4 separate regions of the Homo sapiens genome follow, and all the other regions are linked to region 3. The links are contacts of gene promoters, found by promoter capture Hi-C in blood cells and fetal thymus (Javierre and others, 2016). All regions are on one chromosome and are shown on one strand. Each heading gives the region's core, a stretch centred on a gene start or on the middle of the fragment in contact. The rest is flanking DNA. Distances are from core to core; before and after follow the strand shown.

Region 1 (6,485 bases), core at 1,139-3,638, 790 kb before region 3:
TACCTTCTTCCTTCAAACTAGAATCTCCTGAGTAGGGTTGTTTTGGAGGGGAAGGTTAGCATTCCATCGAATAAGGGGAATGTCATTTTATCTTCTCTGCCTGTTTAGGGTGAACCTGGTCCTCTTGGCATTGCCGGCCCTCCTGGGGCCCGTGGTCCTCCTGGTGCTGTGGGTAGTCCTGGAGTCAACGGTGCTCCTGGTGAAGCTGGTCGTGATGTGAGTCCAACACTTGGTTTGTAAAATAAAACTGAGCAGGATTTCATTGTGTGAAACTTTATGTCCTGAGCTGAGGTTCTCTTCTTCCAAATTTCTGAACAAGATGGTCAGCTTCTCCATAGTATCTACACCTAGTACTGAAAATATGAAAATTGCTTAGGCCAAAGAATGGGCTTTTCAATAGCACACTGCAAAACTGGGCCCAAGTATTTAAAACATCTCTAAAAAATATCTAGGTTGGCAGGTTTTTATCCCTAGTTTTAACAGTCTGAAAGAGGGTTCGTTACTGAGCACTGGAAGTGATGAAGACAGAGTAGCTACAACATAGGGGCTGGTAGGCAGCAGAGCCTCACCAACAGCCTTAATTTGTGTGGTGTCTTCACAGGGCAACCCTGGGAACGATGGTCCCCCAGGTCGCGATGGTCAACCCGGACACAAGGTCAGTACACTTTTCATCTTTCTCTAATTCAAAAGTGATTAAAATGCAACCCAGATTGATGCTAAGCTTCATTTTGCCTTTGGTAGGGAGAGCGCGGTTACCCTGGCAATATTGGTCCCGTTGGTGCTGCAGGTGCACCTGGTCCTCATGGCCCCGTGGGTCCTGCTGGCAAACATGGAAACCGTGGTGAAACTGTAAGTTTGTGAATACCAGTCCCTCAGTGCAGCATTCTCGTGGGCTTCACTTCTGACTTCCCCACACTTGGGGATGGTGGAGGAGTGGGGAGGGGTATCTTGGGCCTAGCTAAGTTGTGTTTTTCTTTTTCATTTCACAGGGTCCTTCTGGTCCTGTTGGTCCTGCTGGTGCTGTTGGCCCAAGAGGTCCTAGTGTATGTACATGCTGAAGATTTCTTTGCAACACTAACATTTAGAGAGAATCAGTCCAAAACATCTGTTAAGAAAATAAACAATATATCAGCTAGACTTAATATTTTTTAAAAATTTCAGTCCATGCTGAGAATTGATACAAATAACTTGAGCTATTTTAAATCTCTTATGCTTGTTTGTATTAAACAATTACAAGGATCTAGCCACTTTACAGATAGCACAACTAAAGCAGATTACCAGCAGAGGTGAGAGCCTAGCTAAACCATTACATGTCCTGAGTTACCTTTGTAAACGAATTAAGCAGTATTTGTGGTGAAGTGAGTGCCATTTTTTTAAAACGGTAAGTCTTATCCATCCTTCTGTTTCTTTATAGGGCCCACAAGGCATTCGTGGCGATAAGGGAGAGCCCGGTGAAAAGGGGCCCAGAGGTCTTCCTGGCTTAAAGGGACACAATGGATTGCAAGGTCTGCCTGGTATCGCTGTAAGTAAACTGTAGCCATCTCGCACATAAACTGATCCTGAAGGCCTTCAGCTCAGAAGGATTTTCATATTTTCACTGCTATTGTTCCAGTATAGCCTATATAATATCCATTTCCCATTCTCTGGCTAACTCCATCTCACTCTTGGAGGTAATGCTATTTCATACCAACATGAAAGGTGAGGATTAAGGGAGATAGAAATAGACATACAATAAAATCTCCTGGTAACAATGTCCTTCAACCCCACTTAAAATAAACATAATTAGAGGAATGACTAATATTGCACTGCTGAAATAGGTTGTGAAAAAAAAATTGAATATAATAGACATAATGGGAGAAAAGAGCCCCACTTTACATTTTCAATTTTCTCAATCCGGAGTCCATTTAACTAAAGTTTCCCATTCAATTTGGAAAAAAAAAAAAAATATGTCTCTTGACATGTGCTCTGAAAGTGTGATTTTCCTCTTCTGTCTTTAAAGGGTCACCATGGTGATCAAGGTGCTCCTGGCTCCGTGGGTCCTGCTGGTCCTAGGGTAGGTGGACTCAAGAGAAGACAGTTCATCTCTGAAATAGAGGCTAAAGCGAGCAGTGAGCCCCAGGCTGCTGCTCCCTTGGTGGGATTCACCAGCTCACATGTACCTGGTGTCTGTCTTCCTTAGGGCCCTGCTGGTCCTTCTGGCCCTGCTGGAAAAGATGGTCGCACTGGACATCCTGGTACAGTTGGACCTGCTGGCATTCGAGGCCCTCAGGGTCACCAAGGCCCTGCTGTAAGTATGATTTGGGGAAATAATAAAGAAGATCACGGACCTAAGGAATGTTTTCTTCAGACTAAACCAAGACAACTTTGACAACCCATTAAAGTTAGCCCCATTTCAATATATCCTCTAAAATATCTGGAAATTGTCTATATGCAATGGGCTTGTTAAGTCCATCCCTGCAAGTGTGCCTGGGGGCTCGTTATTTATTTATGTGAACTTGATTATTTTTTACTGATGAGAACATGCTTCCGTGTGAAGCTCAACTGAAAATCTGCTGCCATGGATGTCTCTCACTGTAACAAAATATAAAGCCTCTCCTATCTCACTTTCACCTTTGCAGGGCCCCCCTGGTCCCCCTGGCCCTCCTGGACCTCCAGGTGTAAGCGGTGGTGGTTATGACTTTGGTTACGATGGAGACTTCTACAGGGCTGACCAGCCTCGCTCAGCACCTTCTCTCAGACCCAAGGACTATGAAGTTGATGCTACTCTGAAGTCTCTCAACAACCAGATTGAGACCCTTCTTACTCCTGAAGGCTCTAGAAAGAACCCAGCTCGCACATGCCGTGACTTGAGACTCAGCCACCCAGAGTGGAGCAGTGGTAGGTCAAGATGTCCAGACCAGACTGACCCTTCTCACAAGTTGAGCTTTTCAAAATTAGTTTCCATTGACATTTAGAGTGAAAATGCATTTGGGTAAAGATTACATTATGTGAAATCACACCCAATTAATGGAGCGTCATCTTCTCCCAACCAGCACCCAACCTCATTTCCCTTAAAATGTATTTTTGCACTTTTCATAGTAATAAGTACCCTGATTTGATTTTTCATGGAGGAGGGGAGGGAAGGAACTGTCTAATCTTAAAAATAGCCACCCTCTTCCTCTTAAATATGGGGTAGACAATCAAAAATGTTACTTATGAGAGTCAGTATCTTTCATTAGTTATTATTAGAATCTGTGTTCTGCTCAATGAGAAGTTTCATGATCTGAATGTTATTTTCTTAAAAGGTTACTACTGGATTGACCCTAACCAAGGATGCACTATGGATGCTATCAAAGTATACTGTGATTTCTCTACTGGCGAAACCTGTATCCGGGCCCAACCTGAAAACATCCCAGCCAAGAACTGGTATAGGAGCTCCAAGGACAAGAAACACGTCTGGCTAGGAGAAACTATCAATGCTGGCAGCCAGGTGAGGAATCCCACAAACACCTCTCCTTCTGCTAAATAATATTTTGGTAGGACTGTTTGTTAATTATCTGCATTTTAATCTCTGACAAAAATGGGCTTATTAAAAAAAGACCTGTTCCTTTCCTGGGTTCCAATTTTGTCCTAAATTGCACATTAGAAGATGGATTGATTGGACACATCCATGTAATTCAAAGTTATTATTCAAATTTGACTTAATTGGTAATCATTGAAAAAACTGACTAATGTCATTTAGTGTGAAGGAGCACTGGCCAGCTATATGCCACACTCATACATATGCATTTTCAGAATGTGAGCAGCTTTTCTGAATTTTTAATCAAACCTTTTCACCAACTTTACTGAATGCCTACTGGAATTCCATAAATTACAAAATGACAGAAAAAGAAAAATGTCAGAATTTCTACCTCCTCATTCTCTTATTCTAAAGAAGAAGCATATGCAAAAAGGATTAATTGAAACAGATAACTTTTTTAGATGACCTTGCCTCAGTCTAGTAGGTCTTATGTTCATCTAGGTAACTGATACTTCAAAGACAAGTGAATTAAGTTTTCTTTAAAAGTACCCTTTTCCTAAGCTTGGATCTGAGTCTACTCTTCCTGAGATCTTTTTTTTTCTTTTTTTTTTTTTTCATGTTTGACTCTTAGTATCTGAGTCCTTCTCCACTTAACTGGAATTTCATCCTATTTTCTGTAGTTTGAATATAATGTAGAAGGAGTGACTTCCAAGGAAATGGCTACCCAACTTGCCTTCATGCGCCTGCTGGCCAACTATGCCTCTCAGAACATCACCTACCACTGCAAGAACAGCATTGCATACATGGATGAGGAGACTGGCAACCTGAAAAAGGCTGTCATTCTACAGGGCTCTAATGATGTTGAACTTGTTGCTGAGGGCAACAGCAGGTTCACTTACACTGTTCTTGTAGATGGCTGCTCTGTAAGTAATAGTGAAATATGGGAATAGCTTTGGGAAGTGGGATGGAGGGGGTTCTAACTTAGACTGCCCCCAAGGGGGGGTCTAAAGGGGGGTTAAAAGAACAGAAGAATGAGAGAACTAACTTATTTCATAAGTAAATTCAGTTTTTGTATGTATTTTATATTTATTTATTTATACGTATTAATTTCGTACTTAAATTCAGATGATAAATTCAGAGTATTCTTATCAGATAGTGCCTTCTGAAATGCTGAAATGTATACTATGTCCATGCATTGTTTTTTCTTTAGCATGTTTTTTAAATGGTAATGTGTGCCCAGAACTTAAAATTTCTTGAGACTTCAGTGGCCTAAACTATAATTTATAGTTATGTGTATTTTATTTTACTTATTAGTATGGCCTACATTTAACTTTTAATGCTTTTTCTACAATATGCTATAAATATAAGAAAAATTAAAATTCACTAACAGCAAGACTACATACCCACCCAGGTCCCGCTCCCAAAGACACACATAGAGGGACATACACACAACAATCCTAAAAATGACTTTGTAGAGATAGGTCACTTGGAATGTGTGTTGAAATGTTGTTGGTTTTTTTGGTTTGTTTGTTTGTTTGTTTTTTGTTAGACTGATAGGGAGCCCCTCCCACTAAAGACACCCTTGATACTGTTATTTCAAGGATGAACTTATTTATCTGGGACAGACATCTTCAGAATGACACATGCCAAACAGTGGTTCTTATTAAATCAAAGGTTCAGATATTATCAGATTCAGAAATAGTGATGCTTTGTGTATCTATTTTCTTCTCTTTAAACAGAAAAAGACAAATGAATGGGGAAAGACAATCATTGAATACAAAACAAATAAGCCATCACGCCTGCCCTTCCTTGATATTGCACCTTTGGACATCGGTGGTGCTGACCAGGAATTCTTTGTGGACATTGGCCCAGTCTGTTTCAAATAAATGAACTCAATCTAAATTAAAAAAGAAAGAAATTTGAAAAAACTTTCTCTTTGCCATTTCTTCTTCTTCTTTTTTAACTGAAAGCTGAATCCTTCCATTTCTTCTGCACATCTACTTGCTTAAATTGTGGGCAAAAGAGAAAAAGAAGGATTGATCAGAGCATTGTGCAATACAGTTTCATTAACTCCTTCCCCCGCTCCCCCAAAAATTTGAATTTTTTTTTCAACACTCTTACACCTGTTATGGAAAATGTCAACCTTTGTAAGAAAACCAAAATAAAAATTGAAAAATAAAAACCATAAACATTTGCACCACTTGTGGCTTTTGAATATCTTCCACAGAGGGAAGTTTAAAACCCAAACTTCCAAAGGTTTAAACTACCTCAAAACACTTTCCCATGAGTGTGATCCACATTGTTAGGTGCTGACCTAGACAGAGATGAACTGAGGTCCTTGTTTTGTTTTGTTCATAATACAAAGGTGCTAATTAATAGTATTTCAGATACTTGAAGAATGTTGATGGTGCTAGAAGAATTTGAGAAGAAATACTCCTGTATTGAGTTGTATCGTGTGGTGTATTTTTTAAAAAATTTGATTTAGCATTCATATTTTCCATCTTATTCCCAATTAAAAGTATGCAGATTATTTGCCCAAATCTTCTTCAGATTCAGCATTTGTTCTTTGCCAGTCTCATTTTCATCTTCTTCCATGGTTCCACAGAAGCTTTGTTTCTTGGGCAAGCAGAAAAATTAAATTGTACCTATTTTGTATATGTGAGATGTTTAAATAAATTGTGAAAAAAATGAAATAAAGCATGTTTGGTTTTCCAAAAGAACATATTGAGTAAAATTCCTTGCTTCAATGCTCTTTGCAATATAAATATGCATCTCTACCAGCCATTAGACCAAGTGCCTCTGATTAGATAGAAATTATGCAAAAAGGGCAGTTTGGTGTGGTAGAAAGAGCAGAGAACGAGGACCCAGGAGAGCTGAACTCCAGTTCTGGCTCTGTTCCTTGTGGCTGAGTGACCTTGAAACTCTGAGCCTCTGCATTTCAGTTTCCATAGCTATAATATGAAAAAATTCCTTTTCAGCACTATTA
Region 2 (6,721 bases), core at 955-3,454, 740 kb before region 3:
AGAGACCTATTGCAATGGGTTCAAAAGAGACCTCATAGAAGACAAATTTATGAATCTGAAATATTGAAATGAATTTGCAAAACTGAGTTTTCCACAGGAGAAAAGGTGTTTCCCCTCATAGATAGAATTTATTTGCATGTCTATAGGCAAGAATTATTTGCATTGCTACCTGTTTCAAGTTAACTTTACCGTATACAGAGTAGTAAAATAGCTTAGCTAAAGACAAAATCGCATATCCCTACATGTTCAATAACCCCCAAAGGCTCTAGCATTGCATTGAATTTATATACAGTAATCTCATTTGTGCATTCCAAAGTCTTAAATTTTCCCTTACAAACAACATTTTTATATAATCTTTACATTTTCATAGCTACTTCTGCAATTCTATAAGTCAAGCCGAAGCTTCTTTCTTAAAGGAAATGTTCATTTTTCATGCAGATTATAATAAAATGTTAAGCCTCTTGATAATTGTCAAAGTATCAATGATAGTGAATAGGCAAAAATTATTTCCTGTTCTGATATGTAATAGCTATACTTACAGTTTGCAAAACCTTAGACAAGGGTAAGAAAGAGAAAAATAATTAGTCAATTTTTACTTTTGTTGTGACAGGGTCTCACTCTGTCACCCAGGATTGAGTATAGCGGTGTGATCTCAGCTCACTGCAACCTCTGCCTCCCTGGCTCAAGTGATCCTCCCACCTCATCCTCCTGAATAGCTGGAATCACAGGCACACACTGGCTAATTTTTTGTATTTCTGGTAGACATGAGGTTTCACCTTGTTGTCCAGGCTGGTCTCAAACTCCTGAGCTAGAGCAATCCACCTGTCTCGGCCTCCCAAAATCCTGGGACTACAGATGTGAGCCACTGTGCCCAGCCAATCATTACTTTTAAAATAATGTTTAGCAGAAGCAGCATCTTGATAGTCATCAACAGCAATATCAATAAATATTTTATGTGCTATAATATTTTTGGTTAGAAGTAAGATTAATAAAATAATTCAATTCTCAATAAAGGTCTTATTTAGATAAAATGTAGCAAGTAATTTAACTGTATTAGAGACCTTTTAAAAAGAACTGGGCCACTCAAATTGTCATTCCTTAATTTTTTTTTACATTCTAAGATAAAAATATAATAAACTAAATGCCAATAGTAGCTGATATATTAACAATGGAGCACAATATTAGTACAATAAAATTTTTTCTTTAATACATTACACATCACATATGTTGAGGTCCTTTCTATGCTGCACAAAGAAATCTAGCCTGCATTTACAATTTTAAATTATTATATTCTTGTGTAAATTTTATAGTTGATTTATAACTTGGGATTTATTTGATGTCAAGCCTTCTGGTCACAAATGAAACTCTAAATTGAAGCACCATAGAAGCATCTGATTAAAAAAATTACTCACTGCTTTGACGGAATTATATTACAGAAGTATATTGCAGCAAAAAGTAGGGATTTTCTTGTATGTTTTTCCAAATAATTGGGAAAACTCTGCTTGCAGCTATTTCAGAAATGCTCATATCAGAGCAGTTCTTGCCCAAGTTAACTATAAAATGCATGAAACAATAGTTTGACAACATTCAAGAGCACTTCCAGCAGACAGGACTTGAGAAGCAGCAGTCCGGGAGAGAAGGAAAACACACTGAAGTGAGATTCTGCCCTGTATTTCCCTTCAAGACATCTGCAAATTTGCATCTGAGAGAAACAGAGATTAAAAAGAAAGACAAACCTGGCTTACGACACTCTCACTGGGCTGAAGAAACAGAGTTTGGGGGTGAGGGCATGTAATAGAGTTAAAATTTGGGGAAGAAAACACATAAAAGTAAGCGTGAAATTCTGCATGCAATTTCCTTGCAAGGGGTGGCCATCCCCAAAACTGCATATACACAAAGCAAGACTCCTAAACATCTAGCAGAAAGTACCAGTATGCCAAAGAGCTAAGCAAAGATTTTAGCAGTATGGTAGTACCAAGGGCATATAGATTATAATTCAGGGCTCACAAAAGTAGAGGGGACCCAGGAAACACCCCCATGATTTCACATGAGACCATAAAAAGGTTATACCTTAGAAGTAAAAAATAAGGAATAAAGGCAAATTAAAACTAGACCAGTTCCATCACAGTATAGAATCCACTCTTGGAATCCACTCTTGACTAGATAAAAGTGACCTGTTATATCTCTATCTACTTGCCAAAATGAAATTAAATTATCTTTGGGGAAAGATATCGTCATCTAAGGCCTGTATAATTTTTCATACAGAATCTCTAGTATTCCATCAAATATTGTTAGGCAAGATAAGAAATTGGAACATATAACAAAAAACTAGGAAAGATTTGACAATGAAATGGAAGTAAAGATGACCCAAATAGTGGAGCTATCATTAGAGACCTCAAAATAACATTATGGCCAGGTGTTGCGGCTCATGCCTGTAATCCCAGTGCTTTGGGAGACTGAGGCAAAAGGATTGCTTGAGCCCAGGAGTTTGAGACTGGCCTGGGCAACATAGTGAGACTTTGTTTCTACAAACAATAATAAACTAATAATAATGTTTAATATGTTCATGAAAATTGAGAAAAGAATGGAGAATTCATAAGAAACAAGGAATCTACTAAATAAAATAAAGTGGAAATTGTAGAAGTTGAAAAGATAACTGAAATAAGAATCTAATACTTGGATTTAAAAGCAGATAAGGCAAATAATAAAAACATACATCTACATAAAGACATGTACGCAAATGTTAATAACAGCATTATTCAAAATAGCCCAAAACTGGTAGTAATCCAAATGCCCATCAGCTGATGAATGGATGAACACATGAGGTATAGGCACACAATAAAATACTATTCAGCAACGAAAAAGAGTAGACTGCTCATGTATTCAACAACATAGATGAACCTCAAAAAAATGTTAAGTGAAAGAAGACCGACACAAATGGCTATATAGTGTACCATTCTATTAACAGAAAATTTCTAGAAAAGGTAAACTTATACACACAGAAGTAGATCCACAGTTGCCTAGGGCTATGGGTGGGAGTGGAAATTAACAACAAATGGGCACAAATAAATTTTAGGGGGTGATGGAAATGTTCTAAAACAGAATTGAGGTAATTTTACACAAATACACAAATTTACCAAAATTTATCACATTGTACACTTATATTTGGTTAATTTATGCTATGTAAAATTATAAATTATATCTCAATATACGTTTTTTTAACTTTAGCTGACTCCTAAATGATGCACTTGCCAGACAAAATCGAGATAAAGATTCTTAACAATTAACTGTGATTTTAGCTGCCACACAAGAGACAGCGTTTGATGCTTGAGTCCACCCGAGTTTAATATCTGAAAAAAAAATCAGAACTTTTGGAAGACTATAAAAGAATGCACAATATAACCCTGACAGTGCCCAGGGTATAGAAATTACTGAATATATTTTTAAAACAGGAAGTATTACTTTTCTCGACAGAAAAGATAGAATATTGTTATACTAATGTTGGTAAATATATACACCAACCCTGGATGATACAGAAGTTGGAATTAGTAGGCAAAGATTTTAAAGTAGCTGTTATAACTATGGTCAGTGAAATAAGGAAAAATATGTTAGCAATAAATAAAATAATAGGAAATCTCAGTAAAGATAAATAAAATATGAAATATTTTGAAATATTTATTAAAATAAGCTAACGAATTCTAAAACTAAAAAATAAAATGTCTGAAATTGTAAAAAGAATCATTATATAGGTTTAGCAGCAAAATAGAGATGACAGAGCAACTAGTCAGTGAACTTGATAATACAATAGAAATAGTCCAATCTGAAGAATAGACAAAAAAATTAAAAAGATTGGAAGAAAATGAGCAGAGTCTCAGAGAACTCTAAGACAATATCAAAAGACATAACATATGTATAATTGGAATCACAGAATGACAGGAAAGAATGTGGCAAAAAAAATTTGAAAAATTAGCCAAATTTTTCCAAAATTGGGTAAAAGGCATAAATATAAAGCTTGAAAAAGCTCGGTGACCCTCAAACATGATAAATGAAGAAGCTATGTGTAAATACATCGTAGTCTTAACTGCTGAAAACCAGAGAAAAAGAGAACTCTTGAAAGAAGCCAGAAAAAGAATAACATAATTACATAAGGTTCAAATCATCCCAGATTTTGCATCTGACACTGTGTAGGCCATAATTCCATAAACAAATATCTTCAAAGTTCTGGAAAAAAAGTGTCAACTCAGAATTTCATATGCAGCAAATATATCCTATTGGACTGAAAGTGAAATACTATAATACAATTTTCAAATAAAAGAAAACTAGGAAAATGTGTCTTCTAGCAAATCTGCTGAAATCCTAAATAAAATTCTTCAAACTGAAGAGAAATTATACCAGCTGAAAACTCAGATCATCAGGAAGGAATGAAGATGCTTGGAAATATAATATCTGGGTAAATATAAAAAACTACTACTTAATCTCTTTAAAATATATCTAGGTATTTAGGTCAAAAACTATAAAACTTATTGAGGATTTATAGTGTATGTGGATGTAATCATACATGATAATTGTGCTATATATAATGCACAATACATCATGATATATGATCATATCATTATATCACATAAAGGATAGGTGGGGGAATATTAAGCCTATATGATAGTAAAGTTTCCACATTTTGTGTAGGCTAAATGTCCCTATTTACTCTAAATTAGGTACCCTATTAACTCTAAATTAAGAGTAAAAAGTTATACACATTAACCCCCAGAGCAACCACTTTACCTGGGATTATAATCTCCTAAAAAGCAAGACCTTTGCTTTATTCACTTTTCATTCTGAATCACTAACCACAGAGTAGCAAGTCTAGTGAAACTGAATAGAAATAATGAAACAATATTTGTTTAGGTGTTTTGAATCAACTTTTTAAAACTGGAATTGCTCACAATCGAAGCATAATTCTATTCATAGCACAATGTTTAGCATATAGAAAAGACATGATAAATGCAATCATAATAAGTAGTAGTGTTCTTAATGATGTCTTTGGAACACAATAATGTCATGAGTCATTCTTTCTGAATCTTCAAAGGATAATCAATTTATATTTAAATATAATCAACTTATGTATAAGAGCATGTGTTTCGAGTGCCCAAACTTGGGCTTGAGTTTCAGTGATTACCTACATGACTTCTCAATTTATTTACATGTAAAGTGAGATGATGATTTTAAAAGCTTACTTTACAGACCTGTTTAGAAAATTAAATGAAATTTCATGTAAGTTGTTTAACATAGCACTTGGTACAAAGGAAGTGTTCAATTAATATTGGCTGCACTTATTGAAGGAAGCTTTAGGATTGATGATACTCAATACAAACTCTTTAAAAATGTGTAATCCATAGCTAATCATATATAAATCAACTCTGTACTAGTCAGAATATCTGATTAATCAGAATTTTCATTCCCAAACTTTGGGAGATCACTGTGTCATTTAACTCCACCATGTATGAAAGCCTCCACATTTTCAAACCATTAACAAATAAAAAACAAGAATGGTGCTACTATCGTATCAGATGAAATAACAGCAACATGGGTCAACAATTTCTTAGAAAACCCCATGGGACCTGATGTCCTTTGGAATTCAGAATGTCTTGGATCTAAGTAAGTTGTGAATTATCTCATGTAACAACCCCAAGGGGTATGGCAGTAGCTCTTAATGAAACGCATTAATACTTCTACCATCCTACATATGAATATTCATGCAAAGTGGGATAAGTGAAGTTTATAAGTTGTCACAGATCAGTTCCGGTCAGATCTTACCACTGAATGAGTTTGCTACAAGATGAACCAATTGTTTTCAGCTTTTCAATTTCAGAATTGCACATAAGGGATTGCAGACTTAAGAAAACAAACACTTATATTGCATTAATCATGAGCCAGGCATGTTCTAAATGCTTTACATATCAACATATTGATCCACAGCAAGCCTATCAGGTAGACATTATGATTATCCCCATGTTACAAATGAGAAAACTGAGGCACAAAAAGGTTAAGTAATTTACCCACAGTTGCATACTGAATAAGGTGTATAAAGAATGAGGATTCTGTTCTGGAGCTTATTCCTTAATCATCTTGCTATGTTGGTTCTTTGAAATCTAATTTATGTCCTAATTATCTGTAAAGTAATGTATTTAAAGGTCATCTTAAATAACAATTTCTAAATTCAGCAGGATATCAGTCAGCATCTGGCCCAAGGGACCCTTAAGACTGTAGAAAAATTTTCCTGCTCTGCAGGCACCCTTGCACTGTGAACAGAAATAGAAAATCTTACTCAAGTACCAATATGTACAATATTCACCAATATGTACCAATACCACATTTGTTTTTCTCTGCCATACTGGCAGTGAAAGAAATAGCAGGGGTGAGAAATTGGTGGGGGAGGCAAGCAGAATGGAAAATAACATGTGAAAAGCAATAGAATCCCAAGTGGGTAGCTTTGCTCCTTCCCATGTGTTCATTTTTACTTTTGGAAGAACAGGGTGGCAGGTTGTCTGGGCTTGACTAGAAGTCACATTGCATTGAGTCTCCTGGACCTCCTCTTGAGGAATTACATAAAAGTCACATTAGAATGCTGGTTATTGATTTAGAACATTTCTCACCTCTGATTCACTGAATGATTTGAATACAACTTGAAAAGCTTTACCAGAGTTTTCTGTATCTTAAATTCAAC
Region 3 (5,814 bases), core at 138-2,637:
GTATTAATCATATGCTCTGAGATAGACTGAATGGCTTTGGTCCTAGCCACTCTTGGTTACATTGATCAGTGTGGCCAAGGGAATGCCATACTCGGAGAAAATTCACCTCAAGCCAAGACTGTGTAGAAATGAGGGTGGACGTTGTTTGGAGACAATTCCTCCATGGGTTCTCCCTTCTCTGCTTGTTTTTTGAGCAGCAGCAGCACCAGCAGCCTATGTTTCAGATTATCTTTCCAATGATGTTGGTATCATTGGGAGACAGTATGTCCCTTTAGGCAGTGACAGGTTTGTTTATCACTCATTATTCAAAAATTTGAATTTCCTAAGGGCAGAATTCTTAAGATTTTATTGGTTGTACTATCTTTCTTTCTCTTTCTTTTTTTTTTTTTTTTTGGAGACAGAGTTTTGCTCTGTTGCCTAGACTACAGCACATTGATGCAATCTTGGCTGACTGCAATCTCTGCCTTACGGGTTCAAGCGTTTCTCATGCCTCAGCCTCCCAAGTAGCTGGGATTACAGGCCAGTGCCACCATTCCCAGCTAATTTTGTATTTTGTTTTAGTAGAAACAAGGTTTCACCATGTTGGCCAGGCTGGTCTCAAACTCCTGACCTCAAGTGATCCACCCACCTCAGCCTTCCAAAGTGTTGGGATTACAGGTGTGAGCCTCCACGCCCAGCCTGGTTATACATTCTGCTTCATTTTTAAACCGCATTCTTCTGGCAGTTCCATGGATTTGAACTCTGTTTGGAAGCCATTTCTTAACTGTAGACTTAATTTTAAGACTTTGAAAACCATCAAGTTTCTGTTTAAACAGAAAGAATTCCTTTCTGTTTAATAGTACTCTCAGCTGAACTCTATTCTTTTTACATTTTACTACAAGCAGCAAGAAGAAATCAGGCTGCACCTTCACCACTGTGTTTAGAAGTCTACTTAGCCAGATCACCCTGTTCACAAGGAACACTTCCTACTTTCTCGTTAGAGAAGGTGATAATGTTGCTAAGCTTTGTGTCACTACATAATAAGCACGCTCCCTTCCAGTTTCCACTCACAATCTGTGCAGTGCAATTTAGTCTTGCTCCAATACACTCTTCAGAATCCTAGCCTTCGCCCACTGCCTGTTTCCAAGCCACTTCCCTGTTTTTTTCTGTATTTGTTTTGGCAGCATCCCTCTTCAATTTGCTGCATTACAAACTACCACCAAAACTTAGCAACTTAAAAGAAGAAATATTTGTACATTACCGTGTCTGTGGGTCAATTTAGCTGGATGCCTCTGACTCAGAATCTCTCCCAAGGCTGTAAGTGAGGTGTTAGCCAGAGCCGTGGTCATCCAAATGCTCCACTGGGAGAGGATCTGCGTCCATGCTCACTCACAGCTGTTGGCAGGACTGAGAAGACCCACTTCCAGGCTCCCTCATGTGACCTGGCAGGCCTCAGGTCCTCACTGGCTGTTGGCCAGAAACATCAGCTCCTTGGGATGTGGGCCTCTCCCTGCTCATAAGATGGCAACTTGCTTCCCAATAGTGAGGGCTGAGAGAGAGAGAGCAAGAGGACAAAAGAGGCACAAATCACAGTCTTTTTTTTTCAACTAATCTGAGAAGTGGCATTCCATTACTTTTGTTGTATTCTGGTTGTTGGAAATCTGTCATTCAGCCCTCACTCAGTGGGAAGGGATTATACAAGGGCATGAACACCCAGAAAGCAAGGTCATTGGGGTCATTTTGGAGTCTGCCTCCTATAGTAGGAAATAGAGTCCCAGCTTCTGGAGTATACTTTCTAAAAGGAAGGGGATAAAAACTAAAGAATGGATTTGAGTTGTCGGAAAATATTTTATTGGCAAATAATGATTTTTTTGGTCAAAATTTTAGGAAGAATAATTTTTCAGCAATATTACCAATGACCTGACAAGGTGAGAGCCTGAAGGTAAGGAACACAGACGCCATATGAGTAATCTAGAGAAGGATTTTAGATGTTTCTTGAGTGGGTGACTAGACAATGAGAATGGAGTGAAAAATCAGGAAATATTCTTTTTTTTTAATATATATAAACTTTAAGTTCTAGGGTACATGTGCACAATGTGCAGGTTTGTTACATATGTATACATGTGCCATGTTGGTATGCTGCACCCATTAACTCGTCATTTATATTGGGTATATCTCCTAATGCTTTCCCTCCCCCCTCCCCCCACCCACAACAGGCCCCGGTGTGTGATGTTCCCCTTCCTGTGTCCAAGTGTTCTCATTGTTCAATTCCCACCTATGAATGAGAACATGCGGTGTTTGTTTTTTTTGTTCTTGCAACAGTTTACTGAGAATGATGGTTTCCAGCTTCATCCATGTCCCAACAAAGGACATGAGCTCATCCTTTTTTATGGCTGCATAGTATTCCATGGTGTATATGTGCCACATTTTCTTAATCCACTCTATCATTGTTGGACATTTGGGTTGGTTCCAAGTCCTTGCTATTGTGAATAGTGCCACAATAAACATACGTGTGCATGTGTCTTTATAGCAGCATGATTTATAATCCTTTGGGTATATACCCAGTAATGGGATTGCTGGGTCAAATGGTATTTCTAGTTCTAGATCCTTGAGGAATCGCCACACTGTCTTCCACAATGGTTGAACTAGTTTACAGTCCCACCAACAGTGTAAAAGTGTTCCTATTTCTCCACATCCTCTCCAGCACCTTTTGTTTCCTGACTTTTTAATGATCGCCATTCTAACTGGCATGAGATGGTATCTCATTGTGGTTTTGATTTGCATTTCTCTGATGGCCAGTGATGATGAGCATTTTTTCATATGTCTGTTGGCTGCATAAATGTCTACTTTTGAGAAGTGTATGTTCATATCCTTCGCCCACTTTTTGATGGGGTTGTTTGTTTTTTTCTTGTAAATTTGTTTCAGTTCTTTGTAGATTCTGGATATTAGCCCTTTGTCAGATGAGTAGATTGCAAAAATTTTCTCCCATTCTGTAGGTTGCCTGTTCACTCTGATGGTAGTTTCTTTTGCTGTGAAGAAGCCCTTTAATTTAATTAGATCCCATTTGTCAATTTTGGCTTTTGTTGCCATTGCTTTTGGTGTATTAGACATGAAGTCCTTGCCCATGCCTATGTTCTGAATGGTATTGCCTAGGTTTTCCTCTAGGGTTTTTATGGTTTTAGGTCTAACATTTAAGTCTTTAATCCATCTTGAATGAATTTTTGTATAAGGTATAAGGAAGGGATCCAGTTTCAGCTTTCTACATATGGCTAGCCAGTTTTCCATTTATTAAATAGGGAATCCTTTCCCCATTGCTTGTTTTTGTCAGGTTTATCAAAGATCAGATGGTTGTAGATGTGTGGTATTATTTCTGAGGGCTCTGTTCTGTTCCATTGGTCTATATGTCTGTTTTGGCACCAGTACCATGCTGTTTTGGTTACTGTAGCCTTGTAGTATAGTTTGAAGTCAGGTAGCATGATGCCTCCAGCTTTCTTCTTTTGGCTTAGGATTGTCTTGGCAATGCAGGCTCTTTTTTGGTTCCGTATGAACTTTAGAGTAGTTTTTTCCAGTTCTGTGAAGAAAGTCATTGATAGCTTGATGGGGATGGCATTGAATCTATAAATTACCTTGGGCAGTATGGCCATTTTCACGATATTGATTCTACCTATCCATGAGCATGGAATGTTCTTCCATTTGTTTGTATCCTCTTTTATTTCGTTGAGCAGTGGTTTGTAGTTCTCCTTGGGGAGGTCCTTCACATCCCTTGTAAGTTGGGATTCCTAGGTATTTTATTCTCTTTGAACCAATTGTGAAAGGGAGTTCACTCATGATTTGGCTCTCTGTTTGTCTGTTATTGGTGTATAAGAATGCTTGTGATTTTTGCACATTGGTTTTGTATCCTGAGACTTTGCTGAAGTTGTTTATCAGCTTAAGGAGATTTTGGGCTGAGACGATGGGGTTTTCTAAATATACAATAATGTCATCTGCAAACAGGGACAATTTGACTTCCTCTTTTCCTCATTGAATACCCTTTATTTCTTTCTCCTGCCTGATTGCCCTGGCCAGAACTTCCAACACTATGTTGAATAGGAGTGGTGAGAGAGGGCATCCCTGTCTTGTGCCAGTTTTCAAAGGGAAGGCTTCCAGTTTTGGGCCATTCAGTATGATATTGGCTGTGGGTTTGTCATAAATAGCTCTTATTATTTTGAGATATGTCCCAACAATACCTAATTCATTGAGAGTTTTTAGCATGAAGCGCTGTTGAATTTTGTCAAAGGCCTTTTCTGCATCTATTGAGATAATCATGTGGTTTTTGTCTTTGGTTCTGTTTACATGCTGGATTACGTTTATTGATTTGCGTGTGAGGAACCAGCCTTGCATCCCAGTGATGAAGCCCACTTGATCATGGTGGATAAGCTTTTTGATGTGCTGCTGGATTTGGTTTGCCAATATTTTATTGAGGATATTCACATCAATGTTCATCAGGGATATTGGTCTAAAATTCTCTTTTTTTTTGTTGTGTCTCTGCCAGGCTTTGGCATCAGGATGATGCTGGCCTCATAAAATGAGTTAGGGAGGATTCCCTCTTTTTCTATTGATTGGAATAGTTTCAGAAGGAATGGTACCAGCTCCTCCTTGTACCTCTGGTAGAATTCAGCTGTGAATCCGTCTGGTCCTGGACTTTTTTTGGTTGGTAGGCTCTTAATTATTGCCTCAATTTCAGAGCCTGTTATTGGTATATTCAGAGATTCAACTTCTTCCTGGTTTAGTCTTAGGAGAGTGTATGTGTCTGGGAATTTATCCATTTCTTCTAGATTTTCTAGTTTATTTGCGTAGATGTGTTTATAGTATTCTGTGATGGTAGTTTGTATTTCTGTGGGATCAGTGGTGATATCCCCTTTATCATTTCTAATTGCATCTATTTGATTCTTCTCTCTTTTATTTGTTATTAGTCTTGCTATCAGTCTATCAATTTTGTTGATCTTTTCAAACAACCAGCTCCTGGATTCACGGATTTTTTGAAGGGTTTTTTGTGTCTCTATCTCCTTCAGTTCCACTCTGATCTTAGTGATTTCTTGTCTTCTGCTAGCTTTTGAATGTGTTTGCTCTTGCTTCTCTAGTTCTTTTAATTGTGATGTTAGGGTGTCAATTTTCTATCTTTCCTGCTTTCTCTTGTGGGCATTTAGTGCTATAAATTTCCTTCTACACACTGCAAATGTGTCCCAGAGATTCTGGTATGTAGTGTCTTTGTTCTCATTGGTTTCAAAGAACATCATTATTTCTGCCTTCACTTCCTTACGTACCCAGTAGTCATTCAGGAGCAGCTTGTTCAGTTTCCATGTAGTTGAGCGATTTTGAGTGAGTTTCTTAATCCTGAGTGCTAGTTTGATTGCAGTGTGGTCTGAGAGACAGTTTGTTATAATTTCTGTTCTTTTCCATTTGCTCAGGAGGGCTTTACTTCCAACTATGTGGTCAATTTTGGAATAAGTGCGATGTGGTGCTGAGAAGAATGTATATTCTGTTGATTTGGGGTGGAGAGTTCTGTAGATGTCTATTAGGTTCTCTTGGTGCAGAGCTGAGTTCAATTCCTGGATATCCTTGTTAACTTTCTGTCTCGTTGATCTGTCTAATGTTGACAGTGGGGTGTTAAAGTCTCCCATTATTATTGTGTGGGAGTCTAAGTCTCTTTGTAGATCTCTAAGGACTTGCTTTATGAATCTGGGTGCTCCTGTATTGGGTGCATATATATTTAGGATAGTTAGCTCTTCTTGTTGAATTGATCCCTTTACCATTATGTAATGGCCTTCTTTGTCTCTTTTGATCTTTGCTGGTTTA
Region 4 (6,694 bases), core at 898-3,397, 770 kb before region 3:
CCCCCTTCTTCCTATATCTTAGCATGGGAGTGATAAAATTGCCTGAAAGAAAGACACTACAATAGCATTAAGTCCATGTGCAAATATAATGACTGACCCTCATATCATATCTCAAGCGCAACAGTTGTCATAGCTTTATTTATAACAAAACATTGGAAATTAACCAAATGTCTAATAATAGTGGATTGGTTTAAGTAGATATGGTGCATCCATTTGATGGATTGCAATCCAGTATTTTAAATGTTCTCAAAATATACTTATAGAAGAAAATTAATAGCTATTTGCTAAAATAAACAAGTATAGATTACAGGGGAGTTGCATCCCATGCAGGAAGTTAGGTTTTAAAACCAGCACATAATGGAGAAAAAGTTTTGCATAATCAACATTACCCTTGAAAATCTCTAGGTTGAAGACCAAATACCATAACTTCCACACAGTTTTTCTTTTAGTATTAGAATACATGGCTGTTTCTGTGATTGTGCATGAAAGTTGTTGGCCTGAGTATAGACCATGTTATAAGAAAAATATGTATTTTTGCCATCAGAATCATAGTCACTGTAGCAAGTTGCACACACCATGTGAGACACACAGAAACTGGAATTGACTAAGAAAAAAGAAATTCCTATCCCCCATCTCATGCTTATTCCAAAGCATATATTCATGAGCTAAATGAAGAGAAATTTTAAAAATTTAATTAAATTATTGTCTGTCTCACACACAGAGAGAGTAAAATTCATCTAAGTTAATGTGTGCAGTGATTATCCATGTAAATCATTACATACAAGTTCAAGTTTGCTTAAAAATTTTTATTTTTTACAGATATGCATAAAAATTCAGAAAGGATGTATGTAAAAATATTAATAACCATTATCTCTAGTGAGGTGATGCATATTGCCAGGGTTTTTTCTTTAATCTGTCTGCATTTTTCAAAAAAACATAAACATATATTACTTTCATTATCAGAAGAAACTAGGATTATTTTTAACTAGCATTCACAAAACATAGATGGTATATTTAAAACTAAGCTTTATTGTATTATGAATGCAGGCTACATGTAGAACAATATATAGTTTTGATGTACAATTTCTGATTCAAATGAACAAGCACTTTGTTAAATTACTGCTAAACATTACGGAAACATGAGAACACATTATGACGCAGTATGTTTCAATCAACAAAATTTTATTCGTCTCCCTTGGTAAAGCAGTGTTATTAGGGACTATTGAACAGAACACGGAGACAGCCTCCTTATATTGAACTGGTTGTTAAAATACACCTGTCAAGGAAAAAAAGGTTCTGTCTAGATATGGATTATATAAATATACATAAAAAAATCTTTAGAAAATTGCCCTAGGAGGTCCTTTCTGAGTGTTTAGACATTCCTAATCTTTCGTGCTTCCGTGATATATTGTTAAAATATCTATTACAGCAATATTTTCTCTGCTTCATTCTCAAAAGATGCAGAGATGCATTCAGGTAATGAGGGAAATTTGTTACTGAAACACATATATCACTCTAGTAAGCCTGTTTTAATGATTGAAAAAAATATATGTCTCACATAGAAGGATTTTAAAGACAGGTTAGTTGAAATGGTTCTTTGATTATGTAAAATCACTGGTGGTTGATTCATTGTGTCAGATTTGAAATGAGATTAAATTGTAAGAGTAAGTTTTAAATTCTCTGCATTAAACTGAATTAATAAATTGAGCAAAGACATGATTCAAATAGGATTGAAAGGTTCTGCTAAAACCAGACTGTTTAGGTCCATTAGCAACCAGCTAAGAAAGAATATCTTATCAGAAAACAGCGTAGGCTGTGGAAAATTAATAGTGCTAGACCCAGTCTTGGTGTAGAATTACATGGAAGGGATTAGGAAGTGAGGGGAAGGTAATTAAGTAGAAAGAACAGCCGGAAAGAACTGAAAAGCCAAAGATCAGATGGTCCTCAAGTTGAGCCCCTCACCATCTGTTGGCAATCATCAAAATTTATTTGATCTTATTGTATATTTACTCTGTGAAAGGAAAAGAATAAAACCTCATTCTAATGAATGAATAGGTGAGATCAAGGAGAATACCCATTATAACAGAGCTCATTATTATAGCAAGTAAAATCATTCCCATTGCAACATAACAAATACAATTAATATAATCTAATTGTTACATCTTTGTCCATGTCCCTAATATGAGCTTCATAAAAAGATTCTCATGTTTTCCTGGCCCTTTGTGATTTAGTTGGAGCACTTTGTTTATAATTTTGCTGTCATTGTTTATTGTATGTTTGTCTATACAATTGCTCTTATAAAATTGCTGAGTGACTGCATGCATGCATCAGGAAAAGTAGGTCAATCAGCCACTTAATGTTTCCTCTTCTAATCTGCATTAGCACCTGTGATTTCAGTATCAGCTAAAGGGGTTACTACTATTTACCCAGTTATACAAAACAGAAAATACAATTCTTTCCTCTCCTTTACCTCTGGTTCTCACATCCAATCAACTACCATATCCTCCTAAATGTTTTTCTATAGCTTTACTTCTTTAGCCTTTGTTTTTGGGGCTTCCTCCCTTCTTTTTCGGCAGTACTGCAACTTTTCACTTCAGCCTTTCACCTTAACTAGTTACTACCTGCCTCTTTTCTCGTTCCCCTCAAATCCATCTTCCATTACACAGAGAAAACACAACTCTGACCTTTCAACTCCCTGTTAAAAGATTCCTGTTTCCACAGCACTTGCAGGATAAAGTCCAAAGGCATTTGTGTAGTATGGGAAACCCTTAACCACAGTGTCCCCTGACTATTTCAGCTCTCTAACTCTTTTCTCCCATCTCACAGTTTATGCCCTCCAGCAAAACCAGAGAGTAATTTATAAAGCAACTACCAATAAATAATTAAGCAATTTTTATTATAATCAACTCATGACATGCCTCAGGGATGAGTATTTCTATTCATTCTTAGGTCTGTGCTATGCATTAGTATTTAAAAATTAGCTGCTGGGGTTTTAGACTGTGAGCCTTGCAAGGAAGGCAGACCAAACTATACAGCCAGCTATCACATGGGAGCATCTGTGCAAGACGTCTCTGCACAGCTCAGCAAGACAAGCAGATACATCATCATATCTCTGAATACATATTAGTATTGCCCACCAGTCAAGCAGTATGCAGCTTCACAGGAGAGCTGTGTATTTTCCTTTATTAAAAAATGATTGAGACTGTCATTCTTTGCCTAGTGCCATCTTTCACATACCTAGCAGCACACTTTTAACATGCCGGATATTTGAAAGCTTTATCAGAAAAGGCTGGCTGCCTCATATCAAGTGTTTAATTTAGTTCTGAAGTCTCTTGAGAAAAATGAATTGATGTCAGATTTTTAATTTTAAAGTTACATTTGCATTGCAGATGGACTATTTAACAGTTCACGTAATCAATAAATTTAATACTTCAGCACAGGACATGTTAACGAGAGACGGTAGGATCTAAATTAGTGGTTTCTTTTGAAAATTCACATCATGCTTGCTTGCTTGCTTACTTAAATCTGTTAATCATAAGAAATCACCGTCTTGTAATGAAAAAATAAATAGCTGAATGTTTCCACAAAGTAGTCAGCTTCTTGGACATGATATTCATTTCTTTTTAGGGACTAACATATCTTGATAAGTAGTAATATTCTACCCCACTCACCCCTCCCTACCAACCTTGCAAAGAATGTGCAGATCCAAACTTTTAAAACCTGTTTAAAATGCTATTTCATAACTGTGCCAAATGCTAGCGAACAAATATTTTTAAATGTATTGGGTATTGTATTAAAAGTAATTAATGGCAAAAACCGCAATTACTTTTGAACCAACCGTACAAATGGGCACTGAGCTAGTAAAAAGTGAATATTTTGTGTTTTAAAATTATTCATGTTTCTTTTTATAAACAATAAACTTGTTTTATTGAACAGCATTATACATTTTTATCAGCTTTATTGAGATATAATTGGCATAAACTGCACATATTTAATGTATACAATTTGATGTGTATGATATATATGTGTAGGCTTTATGATTTCTAGTTAAAAAGTTAGAAATGAATGAAGAAGAAAACTATCCACTATATTCACAGTACTATAATCACAATTAAAACTTTAGAACATGCCCTTCCAAGTTTTTAAAATCTATTCATATACACATACGAATAAAATAGACATGTGCTTCCATTTCTACCAAATTGTGAACAAGCTGCATATATTAGGTTGTGTTTTTTTGTGTTTTTAACTAAAGTTTTCATAAATGTTTTTTCGTATTACTAAGTATCTTTCTAAAGATAATTTTTAATGTATACATATATCACATACATTTTTATCTGTAGTGAAATAATCACAAAATGAATGATGAAGAAAATAATCACCTATAGCCACCTATAACCACTACTTAAACCATAAAAACATAACCATATAAGTAACCATGCATATAATCACTATTAAAATTCTAAAATATGTTTTAATACACATATGAATTTTAAATATATGTAATTATATATACACACACTTTCATTTTTACTAAAATATTAATCAAACTATATGTATTATTTTATACCCCGATTTTAAAGAAAATTTAATAAGCAGTTTGTATACTTGCAATTTTTTTTACAAAAAGTTTAAAAAATACAGAAATGAATGAAGCCAATTATCACCAATAACTCAAGTAATACAGATAATCACTATTTAAACTTTGGAATATATACTTCTGGACAGATATAGAAAAAACCATTTTATTATTAAATTCTATTTTTAATTTAAATTTTATATGAGCATTTTTCCATGTTATTATATATCTTCTTAAGAAATAATTTTAAGCAGCAGAATAGTTTTATAACATGAAGTACTTTTGATAACATTGGATATAATAAAATCTTTTAAATCTTGGCCAATTTTATAGCAAAACTTTTCATTTTTAAAAAACATACAATCTTTTGATTAGTATTGAAGTTAAATGTGTTTTTCAAATGCTCATAGACCATTTTAAATGATGTCTTATTTATTTTGTCCATTCTGTATGCTATAAATAATTTTTCCATTTTATCATTTCCTTTTATGGCAATTTTCATGCACATATGTTTTCCTTTATATTTTTTCTTCATAATTTTTTTCTTTGCCTTTTTGCTTAAGCTAAATATTCACTTATATGATTTTTTTTTTTTTTGTAGAGATGGAGTCTTGCTCTGTCACCCAGACTGGAGTTCAGTGGTGCGATCTCTGCTCACTGCAACCTCCACCTCTCCTGTTCAAGCAATTCTCCTGCCTCAGCCTCCTGAGTAGCTGGGACTACAAGCGCACACTGCCATGCCTGGCTAATTTCTTTTGTATTTTAGTAGAGACAGGGCTTCACCATGTTGCCCAGGCTGGTCTCAAACTCCTGAACTCAGGCAATCTGCCCGCCTCAGCCTCCCAAAGTGCTAGGATTACAGGTGTGAGCCACCATGCCCAGCCTCACTTATATGTTTTAAAGTTTATTTAATTTTGAATTTGAATTTTTAACATCTGGGATTTATTTGTTATATAATGTAAGGTGACCAAGCATCCTTGTACACGGATTTGAAATTACATCTTTATCACATAATAAATTCTTATGTATGCATTTGAATTTAAAATTTGTGCTAGTGAAGTGATGAAAGCTGCAGTTCAATCTCTAAGCTTTTGTTCCTTTTGTATCTGTTTAGTTAAATGTGGCATTGATTTAGGGTGATACTTTTTCTTTTTTAACACTCCATAAAGCACCAAAGATACATTTAAATTTATATACATACATGTAACTATTTTTCTTCTTTAGGTTTATATTTTCTTTTAAAGCAATACAAGCTTTTTGTAGGAAAAATGTAAGTAAAATTGTAAGGAAGCAGAAAAATTATTTTGATCTCTTTTAATCAACAATAACCACTGATAACACTTTGGCATATTTAGTTTTACAACTTTTTTCACTTTTTCTTCTTTGTGGAGGATACAAGAGATGTAAATAAAGGTCTTTAAATGTTTTCATAATGATGATTGTTTTATGCTTCCAGTAGAACATTAACTTGATTTGTAATAATGAAATTTTTAATCCTCCTAATGGGATTTGAAACATATTTCTTAAAGAACCTAAATGTACAAACTCATATTCTGAAAACAAAAAAACAAATGTTTTTTAAAATTACTCATTAAAATGGAAATTCTCTATTTTCACCAGTGGGTGGCAATCTCAACATATACACTGTTTGGTATTTTCGACAGAACTGTTTATTGCAAAGGGGAAAGCTACCTAAAATGTCTGACAACTGTAACTCCAGCAGCTGTTGTTGCCCTTTAGTTGTTGCCCTTAAAAAAAGAAAAAGAGAAACCTGCAGGAATAATCACAAGTAAGAACATTACACAACATGGAATAAAATTACCCTGGTTTAACGTGGGCTTGGTGAAAATAAAAGCTATGTGTTAAAATACTATTCTTCATACGCTTCTAAAAAATCCAGTGTTTTAAATATTTCTAGAGAGGACTGAAATTTACATCAAATTTCCTACAATTACGTGAGTTTTAACTATTGCAAAAAAAAAAAAAAAGGTTATGGAGGATATAACTGTGATGTGTAAACAGCAAACTTTAATGGTTAGCAAAGCATCCAAAACACATAGCTAAACCAACATTATAGTTAGGGGCATTCAGGTAGTAGAAAGCTTTAAAGAGTGG

What was found. Contacts are between HindIII fragments. The CHiCAGO score rates a contact against its expected background, and 5 or more counts as called.
Region 1: a fragment that was not itself captured here is called in contact with the fragment with the promoter of PPP1R9A-AS1 in region 3 in 3 of 17 cell types (M1 macrophages, M2 macrophages and M0 macrophages); the score reaches 7.1 in M1 macrophages.
Region 2: a fragment that was not itself captured here is called in contact with the fragment with the promoter of PPP1R9A-AS1 in region 3 in 4 of 17 cell types (M0 macrophages, M2 macrophages, total B cells and 1 more); the score reaches 6.3 in M0 macrophages.
Region 4: a fragment that was not itself captured here is called in contact with the fragment with the promoter of PPP1R9A-AS1 in region 3 in 7 of 17 cell types (M0 macrophages, M2 macrophages, naive B cells and 4 more); the score reaches 10.4 in M0 macrophages.

The regions. Positions count from the first base shown.
Region 1 is chr7:94,425,009-94,431,493 of GRCh38, forward strand. COL1A2 (collagen type I alpha 2 chain) reads left to right here. Exons shown (of 52, transcript NM_000089.4): 42 at 109-216; 43 at 602-655; 44 at 742-849; 45 at 990-1,043; 46 at 1,415-1,522; 47 at 2,000-2,053; 48 at 2,180-2,287; 49 at 2,619-2,877; 50 at 3,285-3,469; 51 at 4,180-4,422; 52 at 5,239-6,219. The coding sequence ends at 5,385. Among named protein-coding and RNA genes, the nearest start is that of COL1A2, 33 kb to the left of the region's middle. The HindIII fragment of the contact is 3,339 bases long and covers 720-4,058 here.
Region 2 is chr7:94,467,909-94,474,629 of GRCh38, forward strand. No RefSeq gene overlaps it. Among named protein-coding and RNA genes, the nearest start is that of CASD1, 39 kb to the right of the region's middle. The HindIII fragment of the contact is 3,609 bases long and covers 401-4,009 here.
Region 3 is chr7:95,212,945-95,218,758 of GRCh38, forward strand. PPP1R9A-AS1 (PPP1R9A antisense RNA 1) reads right to left here and starts at 1,388. Exons shown (of 4, transcript NR_183324.1): 1 at 1,241-1,388. All of the region lies in intron 7 of PPP1R9A (protein phosphatase 1 regulatory subunit 9A), which reads left to right. The HindIII fragment of the contact is 3,393 bases long and covers 1,001-4,393 here.
Region 4 is chr7:94,443,118-94,449,811 of GRCh38, forward strand. No RefSeq gene overlaps it. Among named protein-coding and RNA genes, the nearest start is that of COL1A2, 52 kb to the left of the region's middle. The HindIII fragment of the contact is 2,249 bases long and covers 1,024-3,272 here.